4 separate regions of the Homo sapiens genome follow, and regions 2, 3 and 4 are each linked to region 1. Evidence: promoter capture Hi-C in 16 types of primary human blood cells and fetal thymus (Javierre and others, 2016). All regions are on one chromosome and are shown on one strand. Each heading gives the region's core, a stretch centred on a gene start or on the middle of the fragment in contact. The rest is flanking DNA. Distances are from core to core; before and after follow the strand shown.

Evidence for each region. The method cuts DNA at HindIII sites, captures the fragments that hold promoters and counts their contacts. A CHiCAGO score of 5 or more calls a contact.
Region 2: a contact is called between a fragment that was not itself captured here and the fragment with the promoter of GNPNAT1 in region 1, in 1 of 17 cell types (M2 macrophages). The highest score is 5.1, in M2 macrophages.
Region 3: a fragment that was not itself captured here is called in contact with the fragment with the promoter of GNPNAT1 in region 1 in 2 of 17 cell types (erythroblasts and M2 macrophages); the score reaches 5.8 in erythroblasts.
Region 4: a contact is called between a fragment that was not itself captured here and the fragment with the promoter of GNPNAT1 in region 1, in 1 of 17 cell types (M1 macrophages). The highest score is 5.4, in M1 macrophages.

Annotation. Positions count from the first base shown.
Region 1 is chr14:52,789,678-52,796,189 of GRCh38, reverse strand. GNPNAT1 (glucosamine-phosphate N-acetyltransferase 1) reads left to right here and starts at 4,583. Exons shown (of 6, transcript NM_198066.4): 1 at 4,583-4,762. LOC105370500 (a long non-coding RNA gene) reads right to left here and starts at 4,402. Exons shown (of 3, transcript XR_943867.3): 1 at 3,864-4,402. RefSeq lists enhancers at 3,961-4,475, 4,476-4,989, 5,097-5,186, 5,267-5,356 and silencers at 4,387-4,606, 4,707-4,786. The HindIII fragment of the contact is 20,059 bases long and covers 1-6,512 here.
Region 2 is chr14:53,284,646-53,290,917 of GRCh38, reverse strand. No RefSeq gene overlaps it. Among named protein-coding and RNA genes, the nearest start is that of DDHD1-DT, 130 kb to the right of the region's middle. The HindIII fragment of the contact is 4,694 bases long and covers 2,235-6,272 here.
Region 3 is chr14:53,059,339-53,065,781 of GRCh38, reverse strand. It overlaps DDHD1 (DDHD domain containing 1), which reads left to right. Exons shown (of 13, transcript NM_001160148.2): 7 at 2,577-2,839; 8 at 4,581-4,656. Among named protein-coding and RNA genes, the nearest start is that of DDHD1, 91 kb to the left of the region's middle. The HindIII fragment of the contact is 1,240 bases long and covers 1,881-3,120 here.
Region 4 is chr14:53,077,427-53,084,260 of GRCh38, reverse strand. The region is part of intron 4 of DDHD1 (DDHD domain containing 1); the gene reads left to right. Among named protein-coding and RNA genes, the nearest start is that of DDHD1, 72 kb to the left of the region's middle. The HindIII fragment of the contact is 1,491 bases long and covers 594-2,084 here.

The DNA of each region.
Region 1 (6,512 bases), core at 3,334-5,833:
ATGATCCTGGCTCACTGCAACTTCCGCCTCCCAGGTTCAAGCAATTCTCCTGTCTCAGCCTCCCGAGTAGCTGGGATTACAGGCACCCACCACCACGCCCGGTGAATTTTTGTATTTTTTTAGTAGAGATGGGGTTTCACTGTGTTGGCCAGGCTGGTCCTGAACTCCTGACCCCAGGTAATCCACCTGCCTCGGCCTCCCAAAGTGCTGGGATTACAGGCATGAGCACCTCTTTTTCTTTATAAATTACCCAGTTTCAGGTATGTCTTTATTAGCAGCATGAGAACAGGCACACAGCCTCACTCATAAAAAAAAGAAAAATTATAGCTGGGTACAGTGGCTCATGCCTATCATCCCAGCAGTTGGGAGGCTGAGGTGGGCACATGATGGCTTGAACTCATGGCTAGTCATGAGTTCGAGACTAGCCTGAGCAATGTGGTGAAACCTCATCTTTAATAAAGATACAAAAAAATTAGCTGGGTGTGGTGCTGCACGCCTGTAGTCCCAGTAACTCGGGAGGCTGAGGTGGGAGGATTGCTTGAGCCCAGAAGGCAGAGGTTGCAGTGAGCTGAGATTGTGTAGCCATATTCCAGCCTGGGCAACAGAGTGAGAACTTGTTTCAAAAAGAAAAGGAAAATTGCTTGAGTTTCACTTGCATTATGGAAATAATAGTGCCCACCTTATGTCACAGGATTCATATGAGGATCAAATGAAATAATTTATAAACATGTTTAGAGAATGTCTTCGCCTATTTTCTACTACTGTAATAGAATACCAAGACTGGGTAATTCATAATAAAAAGAAGCATATTTGGCTCACAGTTCTGGAGGCTGGGAAGTGCAAGAGCATAGTACCAGTATCTGTTGAGGGTCACCCCATGGCTGAAGGCATCACATGGAAGGAGTAGTGTAAGAGAAAGAAAGACAGGGAGGAGCTGAACTCATCCATTTTATCAGGAAACCACTCCCACGGTAACAGCATTAATCCATATTATGTGAGGGAAGAGCTCTCATGACCTAATCACCCCTTAAGGGCCTCACCCTCTTAATACTGTACCATGGCAATTAAATCTCAATGTGAGTTTTGGAGGGGACATTAAAACCATAACAGAGAATTATAACTTTAAGACCATATTAAGTATGTACCATATTACCTTTTTTTTTTTTTTGAGACAGAGTCTCGCTCTGTTGCCAGGCTGGAGTGCAGTGGTGCAATCTCGGCTCACTTAAACCTCCACCTCCTGGGTTCCAGTAATTCTCCTGCCTCAGCCTCCTGAGTAGCTGGGACTACAGGCGTGTGCCACTACGCCCAGCTAATTTTTGCATTTTTAGTAGAGACAGGATTTTACCATGTTGGCCAGGATGGTCTCGATCTCTTGACCTCATGATCCACCCACCTCAGCCTCCCAAAGTGCTGGAATGGTACAGGCGTGAGCCACCGTGCCTGGCCTGTACCATATTTCATCCAATCTTAGACACATCCATTGTATGACACGCCATTAATTTATATACCACTAAGAAAGAAACAATGTGGCTAATTTAAAATTATAATATCTTATCACTTGGAACTTGTAATACCTAGTGAAACAACTCTTCTATACTTAATTAGACATGGATTGTTATATCTAATTCCTGTGCAAACATTAAGAGGAAAATATAAATGAAATAAATTGGCTAAGGTATTCTTTTTTGGGGGGGGATGGAGTCTCGCTGTTGCCCAGGCTGGAGTGCAATGGCACAATCTCGGCTCACTGCAATCTCTGCCTCCCAGGTTTCAAGTGATTCTCCTGTCTCAGCCTCCCGAGTAGCTGGGACTACAGGCATGTGCCAGCACACCAGCTAATTTTTGTATTTTTTCTGAGAGACAGAGTTTCACTATGTTGGCCAGGCTGGTCTTGAACTCCTGACCTCGTGATCTGCCCGCCTTGGCCTCCCAAAGTGCTGGGATTACAGGTGTTAACCATGGTACCCGGCCAAGGTATTCTTAAACTTCTCATTCAGGCCAACGTTCCTGAATCACTTCTCAACTCAATCACTGACATCTATGTTTATCCACGTAATAGCCTTATTTGTGCCAATGAGAATATTGTTGTTGGTCAGACGCGGTGGCTCACACCTGTAATCTTAGCACTTTGGGAGGCCCAGGTGGGTGGATCACAAGGTCAGGAGTTCAAGACCAGCCTGGCCAACATGGTGAAACCCCATCTCTACTAAAAATACAAAAATTAGCTGGGTGTGGTAGTGCGCACCTGTAATTCCAGCTACTCAAGAGGCTGAGGCAGGAGAATTGCTTAATTGGAACCCAGGAGGTGGAGGTTGCAGTGAGCTGAGATCACACCACTGCACTCCAGCCTGGGCTACAGAGTAAGACTCCCTCTCAAAAAAAAAAAAAAAAAAAAAAAAAAAAAAAGAATAATGGTGAATGCAGCATTTCTTCTAAGAATCTAGAAAAATAAATAAAAATCAACCAAAGGACATACCAATGGTTCCATTAAACCAGAAGTTGAGACTGTCTCCTGGTTATCTTGGGCTCCTCATTGCCAAGTGAACCTACAGGCAAAGAAAGGGGTTAACTGTACTGGCCAGAGTAATCGACCTTGTCTATTAAGGAGAAATTGGGTTCTTATGGCCCAATGTGGGTAAGGAGGAGTATATGTGGAAAGTATGAGATCTCTGGGGGTACCTCTTACAAGCCTTGTGTTCTGTGATTTTAGAATTGCTTATGTTTCACTTTTTGCTAATTTATAAAACATACAGCAGTTTGTTGTACAGGATAAACTCACTGAAAACATTTGACCAGAAGTCTGATAAGAAAAACGGGGAGGGCCATATGCTTAAGATTAGTGGTGTGTACATAAGCATTTTTTTAAATTTTTGTTTGTTTTGAGACAGGGTCTTGCTCTGTGGCCCAGACTGGAGTGCAGTCTTGCAATCATGGCTCACAGCAGCCTCTGCCTCCCGGGCTCAGGTTATCCTCCTACCTCAGCCTCCTGAGTAGATGGGACTACAGGCACATGCCACCATGCCTGCCTAATTTTCAGTATTTTTTTTTGTAGAGACAGGTTTTTACCATGTTGCACAGACTGGTCTCAAACTCCTGGGCTCAAGAGATCCACTTGCTTAGGCCTCCCAAAATGTTGGAATTACAGGTGTGAGCCACTACGCCCAGCCATGAGTGTTTATTTTATTTATGCCTTACATATTCTTTTTTTTTTTTTTTTTTTTTTTAGAGACAGGGTCTTGCTCTATTGTCCAGGCTGGATTCAACCTTGTGGGCTCAAGTGATCCTCCTGCCTCAGCCTCTGGAGTAGCTGGGACTACGGATGCATACCACCACATTCTGCTCATGCCCTATATATTCTTTTGTATGTATGGGTGTAAAAACAGAGATAAAAACAGAGATATGGATGCCATCAACTCACTGATGTTTGAAGTTCTGAGAAAGCATAAATCAGTAAAGGAGTTAACTGAAATTTAAATCTCACAAATGAGCAAAAAATATGATTTCTGGTATATGATCTATGGGGTTCTTTGAATACTATTGCTTAAGAATAAAATACTTTGCGATTTCAATAAATTGAAAATTATGGTACAAGGCAAGGAAGGGGAGCTACTAGCTATGAGACTTTTGTAAATTATGTAACATCTCTGAACCTCTGTTTCCTCATCTGTTAAAATAGGGACAAAGTGCTACTTAGGTAAGACACTTCAGAAATGGGGCTCTGAAAAAAGTCACTTTTCTTCTCCTAACGAAAGGTTTCTAAACCTCAGCACTCCAGACATTTCAGGCCAGGTAATTCTTTGTTGTGCGGCGCTGTCCTGCGCACTGTAAGGCGTGAAGCAGTATTCCCGGCCTCTACTCACCTGTGCCCTCCACCATCTGTAGATTCCAATGACATCTCACCCCAGATGAGAGGCTGAAAATGATTCATACATTGCCAAATGTCTCCTGGGAGGCAAAACTGTTGCAGTGGAGAACCGCTGTCCTAACCCCATGTTCATCCAATAAAGGGTTTGAGGGACTGAGAAATGAAACAATAGTCCCGAAGGAGTAGAATGCAGTGGCCCCAACTCCTAGTTTCATGAAGGCAGGAACTGTGACTCAGAGGCCTGGGGATGCGGAGCTCTGAACTGCCAGCTGGTAGGAAAAGTCCTAATTAATGGATTGAATCATGAAGGGAGGGCAACAAGGAACAAATGGAGAGGGCCAGTGGCCGAGCCTTCGGTCTCAGGATCAAAGAGGCCCACACTGGTCACCACTTACGCTGCTGGGCTGACTGCTAGGTAGACGTATCTGCAGATAAACCGAGACAATGACGCGGTGGGAAAGGCCTTGGGGAGCGAGGAGGAGGAGCCGGGAGAGGCCAGCTTTGGTCCGGCGGCCACCGCCCCAGGCGCCGCGACTCGAGCCTCAGGCCCCGCCCCTCGCCCTCCTGGTCCCGCCCCCGCTCTCCGAGCCCCGCCCCTCGCCCTCCTGGTCCCGCCCCCGCTCTCCGGGCCCCGCCCCTCGCTCTCCGGGCCTGGGCGGGTGGCGCCTTGGCCTCCGCCTCCGCTCGCCTGCGCGCGGCCCTGCGTGAGGGGGCAGAGGCGAGGTGGAGGCGTTGGCGCTGCCACGTCTGGGCCGCGGTTCCCAACTGTGGCGCGGGCGGTGGAGGAGGAGGTGGGGCTGGCGCTGAAGCCGGATCCGGATCCGGTGCTGTGCACACTGGTGGGGGAGAGTCCGACGCGCCTGGCTAGGAGCGCCGACCGCAGGGCCTCTACGGGTGAGGAGGGACCGGGGCCGGGGCGCGAGAGCAGGACCGTGTGTCCTGGGGGCTGGGGCGGGCCTGCCCTCAGGTTTATCTAACAGGTGTGTCTGGTGCCCCGGCCAGGCCCCCGGGGGTGTTGTGTGGAGGAGCTGGGCGTTAATCCTCGCCAGCTGGGTGCACATGGTGTGGAGCGCGGTTCCCAGGAAGTTGAACGCACGCGCGCCTGGAGCAGAGGTTAAGGATGATGGCCAGCGGTCCGGCCATACGCTGGTCTTGGCCTGGCAGGGCTGGAACTGGGACTGGGGTCGGAACTTCGCTCCCCAGACTTTGGCGTGGGAAATGAGACAGTTGGTCGCGCTCTCTGCAGCCATCGGTTTTGAATGGGCACGAACGTCCCAGGCCCCTTCTCTTCTCCCATTCCCGGGCGCATCCCACGGTGGTCGGAGCCATTGAGGCAGCTGCTCCGAAGACCACCTCCGCACCGAGTAGGTCGGCGCTTTCCCCAGGGTACAGAGGGACATTCTTTGTCTCTTTTTCCTAGGCTCCTACCCCTAGAAATACCGAGTACTGTACTGTGATTTCTGTTGCGGGAGCTGATGTTTATGTAAGCCAAACTAATTTAAAATTTTCATACAAAATTGAACGGGCGATTATAGGATTCGTTTTGTTAGGATAATCCCTCATGAACGAATCCTAGAATGGATCTTAAGAAATTAATTTAGGCAGGATTTGCTAAATAGGGGAGAGAGCGCTAGCTGTATGGTATGATGATGTAAAGATTGGGGTCTGTTGAGGATGGTAATCGAGCTCAAGATGCGAAAACGAGGATTCTAGCCCCAAGTCACTTACTTGCTGTGTTACCTAAGGGGCAAGTCTTGGGAGTTCCAGGTGCTCCAGCTTCCTCATCGGTAGACTGGGAATAACGCCTAGATTGTAAAGGTCAAACTATCAGAAAATACTTTTGAACATTCATGCAGTTACACAATTTAATAAATATGGCCAGGTGTGTTAAAAATCTTTAACGGAATAGATTCAGAATGGATTCTTGTTATCGAAATTGTTATAAAATGAATATAAAGGAATCCGAAGTCCGCCCCTCCCCCATTCACCTGTACTTAGAAGGTTCCCCAGGAGCTCTTGAGAAATACATAGGCTGGTTTAGATTTGGCCTTAGATTGTATTTTTTAAAATTTGTAGATCGACTTTTAAAATCTTCATCTCCGGTGTCTATTACTTGTTGCTCTCCGTTGGTTGCTTCTAGCAGCAGCCTCTCTCCCCATTCGTATTCCAACCTGATACAGAGGCTCAGACGCCAAATAGTTGAAGTTTTGTTTAAAAAATATTCAATTGAGTGAAAAAATATTCAACTGATGTGATGACTAGTAAAAATGAATTTGGTGTATGCTTTCCGCGATATTGTGGCAGTTTGGGAATTTTTTTTTTTTTTTTTTTTTTTGTCCTTCTGGATTTTCTGAAATGTGACCTACAGGTAAGTCTTATTCGTTATTCATTCACTAGGCATTATTGGGCTAGGGTTAGGCTTAAACGGGTCTTCTAAACGCCTGCTAATTTAGCAGTTAATCAGAAAAGGTTCTGAGGAATACTTAAGGAGGATTAGTGTTTAAAGTTCATCTAAAAACTTTAAAGAACCTAATGATATGATGAGATTCCGCTTCACACAACTGTGCAATTTTATTCGCAGAAATTTCCTAGTTTTGCAATATCTGGGCACCTGAAGATGCTAAAAGATTATTTATATAAAATT
Region 2 (6,272 bases), core at 3,332-5,831, 490 kb before region 1:
GGGTAAGTAAATTATAACACATCTACTCAAATGATCATTATAAAGATTATATAGTATGGAAACATGCTTATAATGCTAATCTTAAAAAAAGTTAAGTTATATGTACACTAAAACTACAACAAGCAAAAGCAAAAGACATCCACAAGAATAAAGGTAGGAATATGCAAAAATAATGTTACATTATGGCATGTTTCCACACTTTTAAGAATGTTTACATATTAATAATTTTTGAAGGTGGGAGGAAAAATAACTAATGGATAAGCACACTATCCTGAGCCCAAGTCAATGACTGAGGATTTTAAATCACACACAATATAGAGATTTTTATCGAAAATGCTCCTGATTTTTCTTTGATGCTATATAAATGGCATTCTTATAATTAGACTTCTATCTCTTCCTTTTGCAAATTAAAAAATAATCATAAAGTAATAAAGAAATGCAATGCAGCACAGTGGTTAAGAGCTTAGAAGCTGGGCTGTGATTTCCTGAGTTTGAATCCTGGCTAGTTGCTCTGAGCAAGCATTTAATTTGTTTTAGGCTTTGGTTTCCTTGAGTATAAACTGGAGATAAATTATAGTGCCTACTTTATAAGGTTGTTATGAGAAACAAGTAAAATAATGCATGTAAAGTAATTTACATAGTGCCTGGAAAACAGTAAGGGTTAGTAAATATTAGCTGCTGTGATGGTCATGATGATAGATGATGACAAATGCATTGAAATGGTGGACCCGGGTGGAACAAGTCACTCCTGCAAGATGCAGCTGCCCAGAGACCACAGCTAGGAAAGGTGTTTCCAAGTCTTTGTATGAATGGCTTGTCTCTGATGACATTTAAATCTTATAACACTAGAGTAGGTGGTGGCCATCATCCCTAAATGCATATTGATACAGTTTGGGTATTTGTCCCCCCAAATGTCATGTTGAAATGTACTTCTATTAAAATTTCAATGACAGTTTTTGCAGAATTTTTTTTAAATTCTAAAATTCATATGGGATTTCAAGGGACCTTGAATAGTCAAAACAATCTTGAAAATGAAGAACAAAGCTGGAGGATTCACACTTTCTAATATCAAAACTTACTACAAAGCTACAGTAATCAAAACAGTGTGGCACTGGCATAAAGGCAGGCATATAAACCCTCACATACTTGGTCAAATGATTTTTTTAACAAGGGTGCTCTGAGAGGAAAAACACTTGATTTTTTACTCTACTCACAACACAGATCACTTCTGTGAGCTCTAGTCACCAAAATGTGGGTAGGGATTTCTCCCTACAAGCAACCAAGTCTTTGGCAGATTCTTTATGGCACACCAGCTCGGTGTCCCCCAGCTCAATTCAATTCTGACACTATCTAGCTGGAGATAGCATCAGATACCACAAGTTGAGGGCTCAGTTCCACAAGAGTGCCCTCATTTCAGACACAAGTAATAGATTGTCACCTATACTTCTGACCAATAGACTATAAATTGGAGTTCCCATGACCCATGTCCCAAGTTTGATTAATTTGCCAGGATGGCTCACAGAACTCAGGAAAACATGTTTACTAGTTTATTATAAAGGACAGTGCAAAGGATGTGATGGACACCTGATGAAGAGATACATAAGGAAAGGCGGGGGGAAGGGGTACAGAACTTCCATGCCCTTTCTGGGGCACCGCCCTCCAGGAACCTCCTCATGTTCAGTTATCAGGAAGCTCCCCCGATTCAGTTTCTTTTGGAATTTTATAGAGGCTTCATTTAATAGACTTGATTGACTAAATTATTGGCCATTGGTGATCAACTTAACCTGCAGCCCCTTTCCTCTCCCTGAGGGTTGGGAGATGAGGCAAATGTTCCAATCCTCTAATCATGCCTTGGTCCTTCTGGTGACCAGCCCCCATCCTAAAACTACCTAGGGACTTCCAGTCATCAGTCTATGCACGGGGATACAAAAAGACACACCACTTTGGAGATTCCAAGGATTTTAGGAGTTGTATGCCAGGAAATAAGGATGAAAACCTAATACTGTATTTATTTCTTGTTATAAATCACAATATCACAGGTGCCAAGGCCATTCTATAGGGAAAGGACAGTCTTTTCAGCACATGGTAGTAGGAAAACTGGATATCCTCATGCAAAATAATGAAGTTGAACCCTTACCAAACACCGTACAGAAAACTTAACTCAAAATGAATCAAATACCTAAATGTGAGACCTAAAACTATGATGTTCTTAGAAGAAGACATAAGGAAAAGCTTTACATTAGATTTGACAATAATTTATCGGATATGGCACCAAAGGCACAGGCAACAGAAGAAAAAATAGATAAATTTAACTTCATGAAAATTGAAAAATGTTTAAGCATCAAAAACATTGTCAGAGTAAAAAGGGAACTCACGGAAAGGGAGAAAATATTTGCAAATTCTATATCTGACAAGGGATTAATATCCAGTGTATAGAGAACTCCTAAAACTCAACAACAAAAACAATTCAAAAATGGATGAGGGATTTGAGCAGACATTTATTCAAAGAAGTTACACAAATGGCCAATAAGCATATAAGATGCTCAATACCACTTATCTTTAGGGAAATGCAAATTAAAACTAAAGTGAGATGCCACCTCACACTCATTAAAATGGCTACTCTAAAAAAAAAGAATAGCAAGTGTTGGCAAGGATGTGGAATAATCAGCACTTTGGTGCACTATTGGTGGAAATGTAAAATAGTGGAGCCTCTGTGGAAAACAAATGGCAATTCCTCAGAAATTTAAAAAGAATTACCATATATTCAGCAGTTCCTTTTCTGGATATATATCCCCAAAAGATTTGAAAGCAGAACTCCAACATGTATTTGTGCACTCATGTTGATAGCAGCATTATTCACAATAGCTAAAACATGGCAATAACCCAAGTGTTCATTGATGAATGAATGGATAAGCAAAACGTGGTATGTACATACAATGAAATACTATTCCGGCTTAAAAAGGGAGAAAATTCTGACATATGCTATAACATGGATGAAACCTGAGCTAAGGGAAATAAGCAAGTCACAAAAAGAAAAGTATTGCATGGTTCCATTTAGTGTTCTTAGAGTAGTTAAAATCATAGAGGCAGAAAGTAGAAGGGTGGTTACCGGGGTAATGGGGATTTACTGGAAACAATTTAATGGATTGGATGAATGTTTAATGGATATAATTTCAGCCTTACACGCTGATAAGAGTTCCAAAGATAGTGGTGATAGTTGCACAACGTTATAAATGTATTTAATACCACTGAATTGTACACTTTAAAATAGTTAAGATGGTAAATTTAATGTTATGTGTATTTCACCACTTTTTTTTAAATAAGGGGAAACAACTAAACATGCAACTACCACTTGACCCAGCATTAACTGCTGGGCATTTATCCCAGAAAATTGAAAATCTGTTCACATAAAAACCTGTACACAAATGTTTATAGCTTTATTCTTCATAGTCTCAAACTGAAAACAAAACAATCATGGTATAGCCATACCATGGAATACTACCCATCACTAGAAAGGAACAAACTTTTGATATGTGAAACAACCTGGATGAATCTCCAGAGAAATACACTGAGTGAAAAAAGGCCAATATCAAAAGGTACACATACCATATGATTACATTTACGTAACATTCCTGAAATGATAAAATTCTAGAAATGGAGGACAGATTTGTGGTTGCCAGTGGTTAAAGAATGGATGGGGCAAGAGGAAGGTAAGTGTGGCTGTAAAAGAGCAACATGAGGAATCCTTTTAGTGATAGAAATGTTCTATATCTTCACCATATTAATGTCAACATCCTGGTTGTAATCATTGCTCTATAATTTTGCAATTGGAAACTGGGAGAACTACTGGGAGAAACTGGGCTAAGAGTACAAGCGATCTCTGTATTATTTCTTACAATTGCATGTGAACATACAATTACCTGAAAATTAAAAGCCTAATTAATAATAATAATACTGTATTGTTTATGGATATGCAGAAGCCATATTGTTTTGCAGTACACGCATATGTACACCAAGATAAAAGATAAAAATACGCATAGGAATGCAGAAAATGAAATTTAACATAGTGGCTACCTCTAGGAAGAGAACAGAGGAAAAAATTACACAGGAGTTTCAGTTATAAACGTAATGTTTTATTTCATTATAATAAAAATCTAAAGTCACTATGATAAAATATTAAGATTTGACTAAGCCAGAAGATAAGTAGAAAGATATTCATTATATTATTCTCTCTAGTACTCTGTATTCTAGTGGTATACCAAGGATGGGGCCATGGGATTAGTCTGCCATGAGTATAGTCAACAAAGGGCTGTATTTTTTTGTACAGAAGTTTAAAACAATGGTAAAACAAACTAGAAGTTGGCCTGTTTTGTAATATCCCCTTGAGCTGGCAATTTTAATATCAGTGATAAAAGATTTTTCCCAGCTGTGCAAACAACTTCCACCAGTCCCAGTCCTTAACTGGTAAGCAAATTGCTGTATCCTTAAAATATTTCCTAATTTGTACAGATTCAGCCCATTAATATAAATATTCTTTATAAATACTAGTACACAATGATATCCATAAGGATCATTTTGAAATATGTTAATATCTCAAATTATCAAAGGAAGTACCTAGCATTATTACAATCTACTAAATAAATCAGGGGAAAGATATATTTTAGAAAAAATGTCTTACAATTATGGTTGACATTAAAAGCATCTGCAGTTTACCCCTCAGTTTAACTAGAAATACTGCAGTATACCACAAAGTTTTAATCACTCTAGTAAATCATGATGTTGTAATGACAGTGTGAGATTATATATTATGCAAGATTCGATTGCAAAGGCATCATAGATGGATGGCAAAAGTAGAAAGCCCTTAAAGAAAAACCCTTGAGTTACTCCGCCCTTATGAATGAATACATAAGGCTCCTATAAAAGGGCTTGGAGGGAGTTTGTCTTTTATTGCCCTTCCACATTCCACCACGTGAGGACACAATGTTCCTTTTCTCCAGAGGATGAAGCATCAATGTGCCATCCTGGAAGCAGAGAGCAGCCCTCACGAGACATGGAACCTGCCAGCACCTTGATCTTGGACTTCCCAGCCTCCAGAACTATAAGAAAATAATTTTTTTTTCTTTATAAATTACCCAGTCTCTGGTATTTTGTTAGAGCAACACAAAACAGACTAAGACAAGTCCTCTATTTACATAATTCCATGGTCACTCAAGTTTGAGATTCTGAAACAATAGGAACATCTGGATATCTGGGCCTACAAACCAATTTTCCATAAACATAACCATCAAACCCTTTGCTAGAATAAGGGGTGGGGAATGCTGCAAAGATTCTCAAACTTAAGCATACATCAAAATCACCCAAAGAGCTTTGTTAAAAAAACAAACAAACAAACAAAAAAAAAAACCTTTATCCAAATTAAATTTAAAGGAGTTACTTGAGCAAAGAACCAATTGTGAATCAGGCAGTCTCCTGAGCCAGAGTAGGCTCAGAGACTCCAGCGCAGCCACATAGTGGAAGACAGAAAAAGGAAAGTTAAATACAGAAAATAGAAGTGAGGTACAGAAACAGTCAGAAACTGTACCCACCAAGTTACAGAAACTGTAACCACCAAGCTGGTTACAGCTTGGTGTTTGCCTTATTTGAACATGGTTTGAGCAGTTGGCCACATTTGATTGGCCAAAACTCAGTGGTTGGCACGAGAGTAGGGTACGGTGGGTTTACAATTCCATTTAGGTTACAGTTCACGATGTCTAGAGAAGCCTTTAAACTGAACTTAAACTATGTAAGGAGGCAGCTTTAGGCTAAACTTGATTTAACAGCTTGTTAAAACCAGATTCTTAGAATCCACCACCATAGACCCTGATTCAATAAGCCTAAAAATTTGCATTTTGAATAACCTCTCAGATGATACTGATAATTTTTTTTTTTTTTTTTTTGAGACAGAGTCTTGCTCTGTCACCCAGGCTGGAGTGCAGTGGTGCAATCTCGGCTCACTGCAAGCTCCGCCTCCTGGGTTCAAGCCGATTCTCCTGCCTCAGCCTCCCGAGTAGCTGGGATTACAGGCACGTGCTGCCACACCTGGCTAATTTTTGTATTTTTAGTAGAGACAGGGTTTCACCATGTTGGCCAGGCTGGTCTCAAACTCCTGACCTCAGGTGATCCACCAACCTTGGCCTGCCAAAGTGCTGGGATTACAGGCATGAGCCAGTACACCCGGCCACCCTCATTACTTTTGTCCTTATGTTACCTTTGGAATCTAACCCTGGAATAGT
Region 3 (6,443 bases), core at 1,251-3,750, 270 kb before region 1:
GCACTAAGGTAGAGACTGAGTGACCACTTCTCAGGGATGCTACTGAAGGGACTCCTACCTTCACAGCAGTTTAAATTAGATCATTGCTGAGGTCCCTTTTAACTCTCAGATTCTTACATGCTCATGGGAGAACCCTAATGATTTTCCTAATAATTTCTGAAAAGTCATGGTTAGGGGAAAAGTTGTGTATATCAATCAGTACTTCTCAGATGACTTTCTGAGGACCAGTTTAAAAAATCAACCAAAAAAGTTAATTTCAGACTATCAAGAGATCATCAGAGAGCCTTTGGCCCTTACTTCAACTCTAAAGTAACACAAGAAATCCAGAGAGACCTGTACATCTTGTGTAAATCTGAACTCTCTTTTTAATAGCTTTTAAAATTGAAGAATTGTAAAGAGAATTGTCCTAGCTGTATCTTGACATTATTTGAATTATTTAATTGATATAGATGACTAGAACTCTCTCAATTACATTTTCTCATTACAATTTCTTGAAGCAGGGAGAACAAAGGACTAACTCTATTCCTCAGCCATATTTTGTGTATTTGGACTCAACTCTTGAAACTGCCGGGTTTTTCCTCCTTACGTTCATTTCCTTCGTAAATTTTAACTCTTGAGCAGTGGTTATGGAAATTAGAAATTGTTTTAAACTTTTGAAAAGCTATCCAGTGCTTACTGTGTAAGAGGTTCGTTGAGTTGATTAGATCATATTGTAGACCTAATAGATAATAAAGTTAAGATCACAGTATATATTGTTAATCTTGGCTGAGATGTCCCAAATGAATACACTTGGTCACAAAGGGATCCTAATTAGGAGAATATAATTGGATCAGAAAGGAGAAGGAAAAGGAAAAAAAATTCCAATTAGAGTAAACTCGTTGGATACAACATAGAAATGAATTTCTCCTTTCACTGATGAGCGGATGAGATACAGAAGCATTTAGAGGTAGTACAAAGCTGTTTAAAAAGTTGGCTTTCAAAATCATAATGTCTGACCATAGATGTCTCATATATATGCATAAGCAATAGAAAAAGAAAATGCTGTCAAATCCAGATATGCTCTAATAAGGAAATACAAAGGCCATTTCTCTTCAAGTGTATAATTATTAAAACAGATGACATCATCAAGGTCTTCAGAAACTGTCCATGCTATGCCTCATTCCATAGTGAAATATTTTAGTATCAAATAGACTTTCTCTGCCTTAGATAATTTGATCTTGTTTTTTTACCCATATATGATTGCCAAACTAATGAAGTATTTGGTGTAGTGAGAGATGTTTTAAAATTTTTGAATATGAAATAGGTTAATTACTGGTAGTGTGATTTCCTTTTTTAACAAACTTTAATATGGGAGTAAGCTGGTATTTTATAAAAACAAAAAGATTAGGTATGTTTTGTCAGAGTACTAAAGTATATATCTTTTAGTGCTTTGAGATTTACATGGTACAAGTCTTAAAATCAAGGTCTTCAAAAATAAAAACGATTAAGAACTGTTGCTTTTAAAGGAAATTATTTTATCTAAACATTAGCCTTCTCTGTACCTACCTCATGTAGATTGTAAATCAGGAAAATAATGAAATTTTAAGGATTGGTTGATATTCTTATCAAAGCCAAATCCAAAGCATATTATAGCTCCTTTCAGACAGAGCCATGTAGTATTTCACACTGCATATTCCTGAAACTATGTTAATTAGAGTTTTACTTAAAACCCATGTCTTAGAAGATGTTTATGTACATTGCCATTAAATCAGTAGTTTGTAAAGTGTAGGAAGAAAGAAGACTGCCTTAAAACTCAGATCAGGGCCCAGGATGGGTTTGAGTAACAAAAGAACCTTATTCTTCTGACTTTATGGAATATTTCAGTAATATTTGTTAAAGCTTAATTTCAAAGAAAGCACTTTTACAAAGAAAAATTACGAAAATACTCCCCACATTATTAACCTCTAAACTTAAAATAGCCCTGCTTTCCAGACATAGAAAACAACTTTTTACTTTTATATCTGTATTGCCAACTTAGTGGGAACTTTGAAATACCCAGTAGATCAACTTTTGTTTTTTCTTCAATCATTCAGTGGCCTTTTATTACATTACTCTATCTAAATGCACAATAATTTATAATATGTTAGTATACCTATTATCATAAGCCCAGATACTCATTTTCTAAAACTTACTGACTAAAAACTACAAGGTACAAAAATTTAGAATTGCATGTGGGTAAGTTACAACAAAAAAGAAATTTGCGGGGGTCTTTGAAAATCTTATTGGTATTTGCATAGAACTTTGGTTTTTTTTTTTTTTAATCTATGGAACTGCTGGCTTATACAGTTGGTTTAAGGACTACAGAAGGATCTATGTAGGTAGTATCTGCCTATGTTCTTAGTGATGATATGGATTATAATAGTATGTATACCTTACTTCATTCCTGCAAGATTTTGAAAGACCTAAGTTAATTTTAATAACCTAGGTATATTTGATCGGTAATGTATGTTTTTCTACCTTAATGTATTTGAGTTTAGAATAAGTGTATAGTAGTCAGTGACAAGTCTAATATGATAATGTTTTCTTATTTCAAACAGCTAGTTAAAGGCCTTCAGCAAGAGCTGAATCGATTGTATTCCCTTTTCTGTTCTCGGAATCCAGACTTTGAAGAAAAAGGGGGTAAAGTCTCAATAGTATCACATTCCTTGGGATGTGTAATTACTTATGACATAATGACTGGCTGGAATCCAGTTCGGCTGTATGAACAGTTGCTGCAAAAGGAAGAAGAGTTGCCTGATGAACGATGGATGAGCTATGAAGAACGACATCTTCTTGATGAACTCTATATAACTAAACGACGGTAAAATATCCTCATCTTTTGAAAAATTTTTAAATGTCTTTATGGAATTACTGGACCTCTTACGAGAAAACTAAGAATTTCATGATAAAGAAATAATGCATTGTTCAAGATACAAAGATTACTATATAGCATGCCTAATCAAGCTGGAGACTGTTGATTTTCATGCTAATTACATGCATTTTCCTGTAGCATAAAATAAATTCTTTTGTTATTCTCCTTGTTTTCCTTTCATCGTTTCTTCACAGTTTGTTAGGAGTGAAATTTAAAACTTATTCCAAGCTTAGTCACTGCATAGAATCCTTATTGAAAATGTTTACCAGTTTATAATCCTTTGTAGTTTTACTGACCTTTTGAGGTGGGTTTCTACCTTTCTTATTATTCTGAAAATAATTTTTAAGTGCTTTTTTTAAGCAAATATATTTTTTTACATGTTATATGTATAAACATAATTATATGTGTTATATAATTATAAGATTTTATTATTTAATCATTTGTGGCCCTCCTGATACTATCTTTTAATTCTTTGCTGCATTCCTATCTTCATCTCTAGTTACATGCCTTATCTTCTTTGTTCTCTTTATATGATTAATTCTAATATAAAAATGAAAAATCACTCATTTTGATAATTTACTAGCATATTAAAACAAATGTGCTAATTGACTAAAATTTTTACTAGTTTTGTTTTTGTCTTACAGATGTTAACTAAGGATTTCATTTAGAATCTTATTAAGTACCATAGGCTAGACACACAAATATTATAGTGTCAAAATAATTGACAGGTTTGAAATAAAATGTCATGTTTGGCAATACTCGGAGCAGCATTTTAGATGTATAAATCCAGTAAAACTTTAAAAAAAGAAAAAAAAAGCATGGAAAATAACAAATTTTTTTTTTTTTTTTTTTTTTTGGAGACGGAGTCTTGCTCTGTTGCCCAGGCTGGAGTGCAGTGGCACGGTCTCAGCTCACTACAACCTCTTGTCTTCCAGGTTCAAGTGATTCTCCTGCCCCTGTCTCCCCAGTAGCTGGGATTACAGGCAACTGCTACCACGCCCGGCTCATTTTTGTATTTTTAGTAGAGATGAGATTTCACCATGTTGGCCAGGCTGGTCTTGAACTCCTGACCTTAAGTGATCCACCCACCTGAGCCTCCCAAAGTGCTGGGATTCCAGACATAAGCTACTGCGCCTGGCCAACTATAGCTTTTAAAAAATAATAATGATAATAATAACTTAATTCCATAGTTTACTAAATGTAAGTAGCTATGAAACATTGTAATTGAAAATGATGTTCATCAACAGAAGGGTTAGACTATATGGTTCACCTGTATTTTGGACAGTCATAGTTGTTACAAAAAAAAAATTGAAGTAGGTCAGGAGGCAATGAAATGAAAAGATCTCTAAACTCTTAAGTATAGAAAAGAGAGAACAGTATATATGGTATTAACCATTTGGTATAATTTTTTAAAAGATGTATATGTGCTTGTATATGACTCACATTTTACTACAAAAAAGCTGTTAACAGCAGGTATCATGACAACTAGCGGTACTTTACTAATTATTTCATAAATTTTTATATACTTTCTGTACTGTGGCAGAGACATTTATTAAATACTGTCAACCAGGATTAATGTGAGGGATAGTGGGCCATCATCTGCGTCTTTATACTTTAGTAAGCTAGCAAGCATCTAATATTTATGAAATTATAAATACGTGTGTGTATATAATCTCATACCCCTTCTTAGGCTGAAGGAAATAGAAGAACGGCTTCACGGATTGAAAGCATCATCTATGACACAAACACCTGCCTTAAAATTTAAGGTAAGGAAAGAGCAATGTGTTCTTCAACATTGATCTCAGTATTTTTTTTAACGTCATGTGAAATATGCCTTTAGGATTCAAATGAAAGTTTATTGTTCTTTCAAAATAAATATTTATTCAACATATACTATATGTTGGACACTGCCATTTCTGGTTGTACAAAGAAAAGAATAGACAAGTCAGTTCCCCAGTCCTCAGGTTATATGGCACAGTATTATTGATGCTATTATCAGTATACAGAACAATATATGTACAGGAGAGGGAGGTTCTAATTTTGCCTGCAAAAGTTTACAAAGGAGTGATATTTGTACTTGGTCTCAGTAAATTAGATATTGCCAAGTGAAAGAAAGGAGAGATGCTATTCTGTTTAAGAGGAATGGCATAAACAAAGGCATAGAGGGCTGTAACTTCATATACCTCAAGAAACATCAGCTAATCTAGAATAGTGGTAAAGAAAAATAGAGACAGATGAGAAATATTTACTATTTAGAATTAAGAAATCTTAATGACCACCTAGTTGGTCAGTGGTGAGAAAAAAATCAGAGGAAGTATATGAGTAATGATTCCAGGGATGGAAAGCTGACATTTCAATGGATGAACAATATATGACAAAAGCACAAGACAGAGGTGCACAGGTTAGCTTGGAGCTGTGTGAGCAAACTTAGTTTAGCTATAATATACAGAAGTCAGGACAAGGAGGCAGTGAGAGAGCAGGAATAGCTAGAAATAAGGAACTTACATTGATATAGGCATTGGGAAGCTTTGCAGGGTTTTTAAGTATTAGAATGACCTGTTGAAAGCAGTGATTTAGGAAAATGTGGCAGAGGTGTCAGCATTGACTAGACTATTGGAAAGGACATACCCTATAGCTGAATAACAAATAACTTGCTTGCAGTGTTAAATGGGAAATGTCATAAGTTTCCTAATACTCATTTCCTGTTGAGTATTTGCTCATGTCTAGTATACTGTATTACCTCTTCTTGAAATGTGTTTCTTTTCTCACAAGAACTTAACACACAGGTTAAGATGTGGAATGATGCAGAAATTTCTTTAAAACGTTAAGAGTTTTTAAATTGAATCTATCTCCATTACTTACAAAGTGTTTTTTTAAAAAAAATATATACCATACATTGTAAAACAATATGGTAAGTTATAACATATTTTTAAAAGCCGTAAGAGTATGGTCTTTGGAGTGATCCCATTGTAGAATTTGCATTTCATCTCTACTATCATTACTTTTTTTTTTTTTTTTTTTTTTTTTTGAGACAGAGTCTTGCTCTGTCACCCAGGCTGGAGTGCAGTGGCGTGATCTTGGCCCACTGCAACCTCCGCCCCTCCGATTCAAGTGATTCTCCTGCCTCAGCCTCCCGAGTAGCTGGGATTACAGGTGCCCGCCACCACGCCCAGCTAATTTTTGTATTTTTAGTAGAGACGGGGTTTCACCATGTTGGCCAGGCTGGTCTCGAACTCCTGACCTCGTGATCCGCCCGCCACGGCCTCCCAAAGTGCTGGGATTACAGGCGTGGGCCACCGCACCCAGCCTATCAGACTATTTTTATTCTCAAAAATAAACCAGGTTATGGCTGGGCACGGTGGCTCACACCTGTAATCCCAGCACTTTGGGAGGCTAAGGTGGGCGGATCACGAGGTCAGGAGATCGAGACTATCCTGACTAACACAGTAAAAGCCCATCTCTACTAAAAATACAAAAAAATTAGCTGGGCGTGGTGGCGGGCGCCTGTAGTTCCAGCTACTCAGGAGGCTGAGGCAGGAGAATAGCGTGAACC
Region 4 (6,834 bases), core at 90-2,589, 290 kb before region 1:
TTTTATCTGCTCTATAGCCTTCATTTTGGAGCCATTATCACACATCTCCTTTGATTCCAAATGTGATTTATATAATCTTGTGTTCAAATTCAAGAAGAATAAGTCCTTTTTTCCAAAAGTCCCAGCTAGTCTGTGCATTAGCTAGTGACTAATGATGTTGATCCAACTTCCTGAATCTATGTATGTAGCCAAGCAGGGTATGATTGGCTAAACTTGTCATATTCCCAACCTAGAATCAGATGGAAGTTGACTTCATCTTAACTATAGGAAGAGCTAGATTCACAGATAAAAATCAAGAGCTATTATTGGAAGCAGGATGAATGAATCCAAGGTGGCTCAAAAAAAAACCCAAGTGTCCACTACAAGGAGCATTGCTATCATTTCTTCGTAGACAGGTTAATTTGATGGAAAATTCTACACATAACTTAGTAATCAATGGAAAATATTCATATAAAAAGGAATTCTGCATAATAAAAGAGAGAAAGATGGGAAAATCCATAGGATTTCTTACCATTTCCCTGCTTGCTGTCATTCCTAAGTTCAGTGTTCGGGCCTATACAAAACTTCATCCTTATCAGTGCCATCCTGAAGCTTGTGTGTACTTGTGATTGATTTGACAGCCTTTTGTTCTCTGAGGATTTCTTTAAATCATGTCTTAGATTCCTGGGAATAGAGAGTTTTCCCTCTTAACCTTATTTTAGCAAACTTGCTAATGATTAGTTCAGACTAGCTTCAATCACCTTTGTTCCAGAAAAATATGTTTACCGCTTACATAGACTGAGAAGCAAATTTTTAGACAACTTCTGGGAATGTCAGAATTAGTTTACTAAAAGGGATAAATGGAAGGCATTTTAAATACAATTGAATTTACTTTTTGTGGAGTTTAATTACAAGGGAACTCTTCATAGAACTTGGCATATCTAATACCCTAAATTAGTCATTTTAAAGCTATAATCTTAGAAGACTATAAAGAGGTTTTCAGTTAAACACAGTATGTTGAACACATGAGCTTATCTTATTCCCTCCTGAAACCTTTTTGAACATGATATAAAAAAGAATTTTAAAAAGCAAAAAGGCATAAACCCGTAAGTACAGAAAAAAAATGGGAGAATAAACAATAGTGACAAGAATATCAACGAAACTTATTTTTTTGAACAGGACATACATGTAGTTCACAAAACAAAATATTAAAATATGGAGTAAAAAGGCTGATTCTCATTTCTCTCCCCGTCTTCCCTCATTATCCTTTGTCCTTGTGTCCCCATTTAGAGTCTTCTAGATTTTCTTTAGGCATACACAAATTTTTTTCCACACAAAAGGTGCATGCTATAGACTTCTGGACCTTGTTTTTTTGTTTGTTTGTTTGTTTAAAAAATGTATTTTGGATTGCTTGAGCCCAAGAGTTCAAGACTGTGGTGTGCTATGATCCTACCTGTGAGTTGCCAGTGCACTGCAGCATTGGACAATGAAGCAAGACCCCATGTCTTTTTTTTTTTTTTTTTGAGATAGAGTCTCACTCTGTCGCCCAAGCTGGAGTGTGGTGGCATGATCTTGGCTCACTGCAGCCTCCGCCTCCTGGGTTGAAGAAATTCTCCTATCTCAGCCTTCCTAGTAGCTGGAACTACAGTCACACGTCACCACACCCGGCTAATTTTTGTATTTTTAGTAGAGACAGGGCTTCACCATATTGGTCAGGCTGGTCTCGAACTCCTGACCTCAGGTGATCCACCCACCTCAGCTTCCCAATGTGCTGGGATCACAGGCGTGAGCCACCATGCCCGGCCAACCTCATCTCTTAAAAAAAAAAAAAAAAAAAAAGGTATCTTGGAGATCACTGTTCATGATTTTCTATTTATATCTTTTTCTATTTTTTTCTATATTTATGTCACACATATATTTTCTTAAAACCAATTAGTTTACCAATTTTTTTCTAATTGAGAGGAATTATGAAGACTTATGTTTTACAGCTATTTAATGATCCTCAGTTGTACAGTAATTCTTAAATGCTATTAATCTCTATCTTCTCTTCTTACAATATGAAGTAAACATTCATTGCTCAGAGAACATGGAAATTGAAATAAGCTTATAACAGGACTGAAATCATGATTTTTGTGCATGCATAGCAGCACAGTAATGGGTCATTGTCTGAGGTATAGTATAATATTGTTTAATCATTCCTTTTTCTCATTTTCTCTATCTCCCATTGGTCTCAGTAGTTCTTATGAGATATTTAAGAAATAGATTTTACTGTTTTTAGTAAGGCAAATTTGGGCGTATAGCCAGAACATATCCAACTTCTCTCTTCCCTCTCCCTGTCTCCCTCTTCCTCTTTTCCCCATCCCCCTCCTCTCCCTTCTCCTTCCCTCATTATTTTTTCATTTTTCTTCCATCCTTTTCTTTTTTTTCTTAACAGTCACTCCAGTACTCCAAATGATTCAGTAGACATACCTGTTTGATCAGTTTTTAATCATTTGAGAATTATGATAGCGATCCTGTGGAGTGAAGGATTGTGTAAGTTTGCTTTATAACAAAACAACATTTTAAGCAGATGTAGTGTTTCCAAGTTGAGAACTCAAAATTAGGGTTTCCCAGCTACATCACTATTGACATTTTTGACTGGATAATTTTTTGTTATGATGGCTGGCCTGTGCATTGTAAGATGTATAACTGTATCCCTTGCCTCTCCTCACTGATGCAAATAAAACCCTTAGTTGTTAGAACCAAAAATATCTCCAAACATTGCCAAGTGTCCCTCGAAGTACAAAATTGTCTATGGTTGAGAACCACTAATCTAAATGAACTCTTTTGTGTGCAAATTCAAACAGCAGCACATGTACCACTTCCTAATTACTATGCCACAATGATTTACATAAGAACTACACAGCCATCAAAATTGAATGAGTGGGTAGAAAAATATTAGAAATTTTTAAATATGTTCTTCCTTGCATATACTCATATTTGTTAAAACTGAACATTTGAAAAGATGACAAAGAAACTTTAAAAATGTTTATGCGATTACTTATCTGATGTAAAAAAGGAACTTTTAGACTTTGTGGATAATAAAGAAATCCTGCCTTCAAGTCTAAAGTTTTGGCTGTCATTTTATTTTCAGTGATGATAAGGGAAGCACATCTTTATTTTGGCAAAGTAGAATCTAGGCTTCTTAAAATGCGAACTTTGGGGATATGCAGTCAATAAACATAATTATAATGCAATGTCTTTTAAAATATACTGAAAATGAAGATAGACTTCTCAACAAGTACTATTGGGATAACTAGATTTGCATATAGAAAAAAATTAATTGGATCCATTTCTCACACAAGGATAAATTTCAATTGGATCACATTTAAGTGAAAGAAATGAAACCAGGACATGGTAGCACATGCCTATAGTCCTAGCTACATGGGAGGCTGAAGCAGGAGAATCGCTTGAGCCCAGGAGTTTGAGGCTGTAGTGCCCTATAACCACACCTATGAATAGCCACTGCACTTCAGCTGGGGCAACATAGCAAGACCTCATCTCCAAAAAAAAAAAAAAAAAAAAGGGGGAAGGAAAAGAAATGAAATTATACAAGTATTAGGGATTTTTTTAAAGGAGAGTTTGAATTCTTCTAGAACTTAGGAATAGAGAAAATTATTCTATGACTTGATCCACGAGAAATAAGGAAAAATATTGATAAATATATTGTCTAGGAAAAAAAATATATGGCAAAGAAAAATTAAGTTGAACTGAAAGAAACATTTTCAACTTACAGATGAAGGATTCTTAATATGTAAAATCGTTCTAAAAATAAAAATATGTTCAACCACCTTATAGGAAAATGGGCTAAAGATATAAGCAAGTAGTTCCCAGAAAAGGAAATGGCTCTTAACCATGTGAAAAGTCTTTTTTTTTGTTTTTTGGAGAGAGTTTTGCTCTGTCACCCAGACTGTTGTGCAGTGGCATGATCTCAGTTCACTGCAGCCTCCACCTCCTGGGTTCAAGCAATTCTTCTGCCTCAGCCTCCCAAATAGCTGGGACTACAGGTGCACACCACCACACCCAGCTAATTTTATGTTTTTTTAGTAGAGTTGGGATTTCACCATGTTGGCCAGGCTGGTCTCAGACTCCTGACCTCAAGTGATCTGCCTGCCTTGGCCTCCCAAAGTGCTGGGATTACAGGCGTGAGCAATGCACCCAAACAGATGTCATTTCTTAACTATCAGATTAGCAATAGCAAAAGTTCAAAATTTGACAACATGCTTTTTTTGGCCAGGCTGTAGTTAATAGATGTTCTTGTACAGCTGATGGAATGCAATGAAAACGAGTATGTGGCAGTATCTATCAAAATTGCATATGTATTTATCCTTTGACCCAGAAAACCTACTTCCAGGTACTATCCCAAAAAAAATCAGCAAAAAATAAAAGAGGCATGCACAAGGCTTTTGATTGCAGCATCACGTAGGAAACTACTCAAATATTCATCAGTAAGAGATGGCTTGATAAACTACAGCTTTTATTTATATAATGGAGTAGTATGCAGTTGTAAAATAGGGAAGATCTGTATGTATTACTCTGGTTCTTTGAAAAGATCCACAAAGTTGAGAACATTTTAACTAGACCAAACGAGAAAAAGATTCAAATTACTAAAATGAAAAATAAAGGAGGAGACATTACTACCAGCAAACTTACAGAAATAAAAAGGATTGTAAGGGAATACTATGCACAATTCTATGCTACAAAGTATATAACCTAGATTAAATGGACAAATTTCTAGAAGCAAACTACCAAAACTGTTTTAGTAATCACTTTCCAAGACAGACACAAACTAGGAAAACTGATCTGGTAACGAGGAAGAAATAGAAAATCTGAGTAGACCTGTAACAAGTAAAGCAGGAGTTCCAGGCTATAGTACATGTCGGTTCCAGTGACTAGCCACTGCACTTCAGCCTGGGCCACATAGTAAGATCCTGTGTCTTAAAAAAAAAATAGAGAAAAATTAGCACCACTTCTCTACAAACTCTCTAAAAAATGGAAGAGGAAGGAAGATTTCCCAGCTCATTCTATGAAGCCAGTATTACCCCGATACCAAAAACCAATGAAAGCATCATAAGGAAAAGAAAACTATACAAATATTACTGAATAGAGACCACAGAAATGTCAATGAAATGCCAACAAACTTGAATCCAGCACCATATATAAATGGTTATATACCATGACTAAGTGGGATTTATCCAGGAATACAAGATTGGGTCAACATTTTTTTTTTAATCAAGGTAATCCACCACATGTGTAGAATGAAGGAAAAAAAAACACATCATGTGATTTTCAGATACAGAAAAGACATTTGACAAAATCTCAACATACTTTCATAATAAAAGCACTCGGGAAATTAGAAACAGAAGACAACTTTCTCAACCTGGTAAAGGGCATCTACAAAAAGCCTGTGGCTAAACTTATTCTTTAATAGTGAAAGACTGAAACCTGCTCCTTGAGATCAGGAACAAGACAAGGATATCCACTCTCACCACTTCTGTTCAGCATTGTACTGTACGTTTCAGCCAGAGCAATTAAGCAAGAAAAGAAATAAAAGGCATCTAGATTAGTATGGAAGAGATAAAACTATCTCCGTTTGCAAATGACATGACATTATAAGTAGAAAAGTCCTTTTGTTCTTCAAAGGACAGTGAAGAAAATGAAGACAACCCTCAGAATGGGAGAAAATATTAGCAAACCACATATCTGATAAAGGTCTAGGATCCAGGATATATAAAGTACTCTTACAACTCAACAGTTTTTAAAAAAGGAAGACCCCAGTTTTTTTAAATGGGTAAAGGATTTGAGTAGACATTTGTCGAAATAGGATATACAAATGGCCAATAAATCCAGGAAAAGATGTTCAGCATCTTTAGTTATTAGATGTGACCTTGAACGCTACCACTTTAAAGGTACCACTTTATACCCACTAGGATAACTCTTATCAAAAAGATGGAAATTAACAAGTATTAGCTAGGATGAAGAAAAATCACAACCCTTACATGTTTCTTGTGAGATCAGAAAATAGTACAGCTGCTTTGGAAAGAGTTTGGCAGTTCTTCCAAAAGTTAAAGTTAGTGTATGAGCCAGTAATATTGCTTATGTGTATACCCAAGAGATCTGAAAATGTATGTCCACAAAAACTTGTTAAAAGAATGTTCATAGAAGCATTATTCATGATAGCCCAAAAATGGAAGCAACACAAACATCCATCAACTGATGAGCGGCTAAACAAAAGTGGCGTATCCATATAATGAAATACTATTCAACAATGAAAAGCAATGAAGTACTGATTTATGATGCAACATGGATGAGACTTGAAAACATTACACCAACTGAAAAGCCAGACACAAAAGGCCCCATATTGTATGATTATATGAAATGTTCAAAATAGACAAATCTGAAAGTAGATTAGTGGGTGCTGGCAGGTGGGAAGAAGAGGGATAGAGAGTGACTGCTAATGGGTATGGTGTTTCTTTCTGGGGTGATGAACGTGTTATGAAATTAGATAATGGTGATAGCTGCATAACTCTTTGAATATACTAAAAGCCACAATTGTTTTTTAAAAAAAAAAAACAAAAACAAAAACTAATGAAGTTGTGTCAAAAGCAACTTGGAGAGATTCACAGACCTAAAATAGACAATTTGAACCTTGGCAAGGATAATAACTACAGTGGATTGATATGCATCAAATATGCTTAAATCTGTGAGTTAGCAATGACATCAAAATATATAAAACCTAATGACTTGTTATTTTGAAAACTGTTAATAAAGGGAAGAATTAACCATTTATCCTACCTTTTCTAGATTAACTGTGCC